Linked DNA regions of Homo sapiens: region 1 is linked to region 2. The links are contacts of gene promoters, found by promoter capture Hi-C in human tissues and cell types (Jung and others, 2019). All regions are on one chromosome and are shown on one strand. Each heading gives the region's core, a stretch centred on a gene start or on the middle of the fragment in contact. The rest is flanking DNA. Distances are from core to core; before and after follow the strand shown.

The links. The method cuts DNA at HindIII sites, captures the fragments that hold promoters and counts their contacts. A contact is called where the count stands out against the background at its distance.
Region 1: a fragment that was not itself captured here is called in contact with the fragment with the promoter of SSRP1 in region 2 in 2 of the 25 tissues and cell types used here (stomach and thymus).

What each region holds. Positions count from the first base shown.
Region 1 is chr11:57,134,268-57,137,006 of GRCh38, reverse strand. The region is part of intron 6 of LOC105369309 (a long non-coding RNA gene); the gene reads left to right. Among named protein-coding and RNA genes, the nearest start is that of LRRC55, 46 kb to the left of the region's middle. The HindIII fragment of the contact is 4,484 bases long and covers 1-2,739 here.
Region 2 is chr11:57,334,546-57,337,245 of GRCh38, reverse strand. SSRP1 (structure specific recognition protein 1) reads left to right here and starts at 1,354. Exons shown (of 17, transcript NM_003146.3): 1 at 1,354-1,516; 2 at 2,006-2,178; 3 at 2,598-2,700. The coding sequence starts at 2,125. It also overlaps a transcript of P2RX3 not described here. RefSeq lists enhancers at 1,216-1,265, 2,116-2,185 and a silencer at 1,436-1,615. The HindIII fragment of the contact is 12,890 bases long and covers 1-2,700 here.

The DNA of each region.
Region 1 (2,739 bases), core at 41-2,540, 200 kb after region 2:
TCCTTGTTCTCCTCCTCCTCCTCCTTCTCCTCCTCCTCCTCCTTCTCCTCCTCCTCCTTCCTTTTCCTCCTCCTCCTTCCTATTCCTCCTCCTCCTTCCTCTTCCTCCTCCTCCTTCTTCTTCTTCTTTTCTTCTCCTTTTCCTTCTTCTTCTCCTTCTCCTTCTCTTCCCTCTCCCTCCCCCTCCCCCTCCCCCTCCCCCTCCTCCTCCTCCTCCTCCTCCTCCTTCTCCTTCTCCTTCTTCTTCTTCTTCTTGTCGTGCTCCGTTGCCTAGGCTGGAGTACAGTGGCACGATCTTGGTTCACTGCAACTTCCGCCTCCCAGGTTCAAGAGATTCTCATGCCTCAGCCTCCCAAGTAGCTGGGATTACAGGCACCCTCCACTATATCGGCTAATTTTTGTGTTTCTAGTGGAGATGGAGTTTCACCATGTTGGCCAGGCTAGTCTCCAACTCCTGACCTCAAGCGACCCACCCACCTCAGCCTCCCAAAGTGCTGAGATTACAGGTGTGTCACTGTGCCCAGCTAAGGCTGCATTCCATTCTGAAGGCTCTGGGGAAGAATCAGTTTCCTTGCCTTTTCCAATTTCTAGACGGCATTAACCTTGCTTGTCTATGGCTTATGTTCTCCATCTTCAAAGCCTGCTTTTAAAGAGTCCTGTGACTAGATTGGGCCCACCAGGATAATCCAAGATAAACTATCTCAGGGTCCTTAACCTTCATCCCGTCTGCAAAGTCCCATATGCCCTTAACATAGTCACAAGTTATAGGATCAGACCTGAACATCTTTGTGGGGGGGCGGGGAAGAGAGGACTTTATTCTGCCTACCACACACCTCAAGCTAGTGAGGCTTCCATACACTTCTATCAGATCTGTGTGGGTTATCAAAGTTCAGGAAGTTTTCAGGTCAGCCCTGGCCGTTACTCTCAGGTAGGCCATCTTTCATCTTCTCTGCATGTGCTCTGCATCCTCGTGCACCAGGGATCTGTGAAGCCCCTTTAGGACTATCTGGTTTCCTGAATCTCCTTGTTAACTTTCTGGTTAGTCTTCCACCAGGACTGCAATCTCAGGTTAGTAGAGTTGTTGGCTTTCCCAGTTTACTGGTCACGAAGATTGCTAGCATTACTGACAGGGATGATGGATATGGATTTTTTTTTCCCTCCCATTCCAAACCAAGTGAGTCCTCTCTGCAGCAAGTTGCTGGTTTTCACAGCCAGTCCCATTGGGCTAGAACTACCCTGCCGACCAAGCTGGATGGGGATGGGGAGGATGAAAGCAGCTTCAGTCTGAAGCTTGAATACCACAAACTCCTGCAGTTCTTATCCCAAATTTAGCAGTTTTTCATGAATACAAACTTTATTTGCTGTATGGCTCTGTTTGATTTTCAGAGCTCTGAATCATTGTTTTTGACAGTTTTGATTTTAGTATATATAGTTGCTTTTTGGGGAGAAGATTTGCTGACCTCTTCATTTTGCCAAACCAGAAGTCTCTCCTGCCTAATTGGAGGCTTTAGTCCCAATATTATTACATTTAGAATAATTAATAATATTGTCAGTTTCTCAATATACTTTACTGGTATTTGACTGCTTTCTGTATCATGTGTTTATTTGTCCCTCTTTCCCTCCTTTCCTGCCTTCTTTGGGATAATCAAATATTTTGTAGCTGTCCATTTTAATTTCTCTATTGACTTTTTAACTATTTTTTTTGTATTTTTTTAGTGCTGCTCCAGGCAATATACATATTCTTAATTTATCAAGTCTACCTTTAACTAATATTGCATCACTTCCTGTGAAATGCAAGAATCTTACAACAGAAAGACAGCACTTATCTAAACCCATCTTCTATGCTATTACTGACATACAAGTATACCTTCTTTCATTGCGCTTCGCTTTATTATGCCTCTCAGATATTGTGTTTTCATTACAAATAGAAGGATTGTGGTAACCCTGCATCAAGCGAGTCTATTGGTGGCATTTTCTCAACAGCATGTGTTTACTGTGTGTCTCTGTCAAATTTTGGTAATTCAATATTTCAAACTTTTTCGTTATTGTTTATCTGTTACGGTGATCTGTGATCAGTGATCATTGATGTTATTACTGTAATTGTTTTGGAGCACCACAAACCATGCCCGTATACAACACTAATCCATACAAGTCGTGAGTGTTTTGATTACACCACTGACTGGCCATTCAACATCTCTCTTCCTCTCCTTGGACCTCCCTAGTCCCTGAGACACAACAAAGTTGAAATGAGGCCAATTAGTAACCCTGCAAGGGCCTCTAAGTGTTCAAGTGAAAGGAAGAGTTGTACGTCTCTTACTCTATATCAAAGGTAGAAATGATTAAGCTTAGTGAGCAAGGCTCACTAATGTCTTTCATGAATGTCCAAAGCTTTCACTAATGTCAAAAGCTGAGATATGCTGAAAGCTAGGCCTGTCATACCAAACAGTTGGCCAAGTTGTGAATGCAAAAAAAAAAAAAAAAAAAAAGTCCTTGAAGGAAGTTAAAAGTGCTATTCCAGTGACCACACGAATCATAAGGAAGCAAAACAGCCTTATTACTGATGTGGAGGAAGTTTTTGTGGTCTGGATAGAAGATCAAACTAGCCACACAATACTACCTCAAGCCAAAGCCTAATCCAGAGCAAGTCTCTTCCATTCTGTGAAAGCTGAGAGAGGTGAGGAAACTGCAGAAGAAAAGTTTGAAGTTAGCAGAGATTTGTTCATAGGTTTAAGGAAAGAAG
Region 2 (2,700 bases), core at 105-2,604:
ATCTCAGCTCACTGCAACCTCTGCCTCCTGGGTTCAAGCAATTCTCATGCCTCAGCCTCCTGAGTAGCTGGGATTATAGGCACCCGCCACCACGCCTGGCTAATTTTTGTATTTTTAATAGAGACGGGGCTTCACCACGTTGGCCAGTCTGGTCTCAAACTCCTGACCTCAAGTGATCTCCCTGCCTTGGCCTCCCCAAGTGCTAGGATTACAGGTGTGAGCCACCGTGCCTGGCCGGGGATGTTTTCACCTTGTTCAAGTTTCCTCAAATCTGAGAAGTGTGCTAAAGTAGTAATAGGCCCTCAATATCTATTTATTAAACCCAGTTGAATTTATTTTGCTAGATAATGCTGGAATAGCCACTACTCAGAGGTTAAAGCTATGAGTTCAGGGGAGAAGGGTGCATTCCTGTTGTCTCTTACCCCAGGATTGATTTAGCAAGCTGGTGTATTGATTGTCAGGGAAATCTTGAGCTTACATATTCTGTACTAATGTCTTCATGTAGGACACATATCAATAGTCATTCTGAACATACAGTCACTGTGATTATGACAGAAGATAACTGGACTGGTGGTGTTAAGGAGGTCTGGGTCCTACCTAGCCTTGTTGCCAACGCACTGAGACCCTGGGCAACTCACTCCCCTTTGGGTCTCAGTTTTCCCATCAGTAAAAGGAGGTTGGGGTAGAAAAACTAAAACATCTTTTCCAGGTCTGGTCTCTGATGTTGCAAAATGCACTCTGGGATTATACGGGGGAGACCTGGCTTCCGCAACCACAGGATGATGTGGTTTCAAATCAGTTCTGGCTCCAAGGTGAATCTGACACCAGGACTTGAACTGGATAAGGCCGTTTGCCAGCCTCTTGGAGGTACCTATAATTTTCGGTTAAGGATGTGAAAATTTTGGGTGTAGACAGTGAACTTGACAGTTCAGCCAGAAAGCAGTGCACCCACGATGACACCAACACCCGCATACTCTCCGCAGCCAGTGGGAGAGGTCGTTTCCTCCCACAACTGTTCAAATACTTCTCTTCTTGTCCCATCGACTCCTTTCCATGACATAGAAACTATTTTGCAGAGAAACGGGCACGCATCATTCCAATACACACCCCCACCCCACCCCTGTACTAAGTCTGATACAATAAAACTACACAATTTCTCTTTAGTATCTAGTCTCGACTGAAGAAGTGTCTGTAGTTTCTAAAGAGCCCTACACACATTTTCTAGGCCGGATTCCCCCTGGGTGAGAGAGGCTTCACGGCAACCACCCTTCCCTCAGGTCCTCCAGAGTCGCTGACGCTCTATGCGACTGTCTCGCAGGCGGGCCCGACTCGCGTCTCTCTAGCCAGCTCATCCTCTCTGTGGCCTGTGTACGGCTTCCGGTGGCGGGACGCGGGGCCGCGCACGCGGGAAAAGCTTCCCCGGTGTCCCCCCATCCCCCTCCCCGCGCCCCCCCCGCGTCCCCCCAGCGCGCCCACCTCTCGCGCCGGGGCCCTCGCGAGGCCGCAGCCTGAGGAGGTAGGTGGTGGTCGTCCCCGGTCCCAGGAAGGCAGGGGCCCCGCTCCCCCACGGGACCCTCGACATGGACCATTCCGCGTTCGCAACCGCGGGGAGCGGGCGAATCCATTATGTGGGGCGGGGGTGAACCGTGGGTCTGGGGCCGCGGGGTGGTGGGAGCGGTGCGAGGGAAACCCTGCACTCTGAGCTGGATTGGGTCGCGTGCGATGTGCGGGCTCCTGGCAGACCCTGGGGTTCCGCTGCTCGTTGCCATGGCTCCCGCCGGAGCGGCCAGAGCGGGCGTCGGGTTGGGTGTCAGCGGTATTCCGGGCCCGGTTCTCCACCCAGGCCTGGACCTGGACCCTCGGGCACTGCAGCGTCCGTCTGTAGGTTTCCAGGCAGAGGAAATCCTGAGACATCCAGGCGCAGCTGGGAGTTGCTACCTGGCTCCATCCGTGAGCACAGCGAGGTGCTGTCTTTCATGCTTATCTGTCTTCCTCTTGAATTCAGATTCCCAACCTGCTGAGCATCCGCACACCCACTCAGGAGTTGGGGCCCAGCTCCCAGTTTACTTGGTTTCCCTTGTGCAGCCTGGGGCTCTGCCCAGGCCACCACAGGCAGGGGTCGACATGGCAGAGACACTGGAGTTCAACGACGTCTATCAGGAGGTGAAAGGTTCCATGGTGAGAATGGCTTGGACAGGTGATACAAGTAGAGAGAAGGAAGGAGGGTAGAGTTTTTGTCCATTAATGAGAGCTTGCTTTGGTAACGTTATTTTGGAAAAAGAAGACTCAGTATAATGTGTACCTAGTGTCTCCACCAACTCAAGGCAATACTGAGAGATAGTCTCAGAGTTATAGGGACCGTATATGCTGTTCAGTTCCCAATTCCTGTTTTACAAATGAGGAAACTGAGAATCTGTTAAGGGTTCTAGATACCAGAGTCTGGTTTAGAATCTAGACTCCTTGGCACCCTCAGCTGTTGCTCCTGCATTGATAATCTGGCCAGTCCACTTGCAGCAGGAATGTGTGTTAGGTAGAGCTGTAGAACCCAGGACATGCTGTGTACTGTCTCCATGCATCTGGGCCTGCTTTTCTTACAGAATGATGGTCGACTGAGGTTGAGCCGTCAGGGCATCATCTTCAAGAATAGCAAGACAGGCAAAGTGGACAACATCCAGGCTGGGGAGTTAACAGAAGGTATCT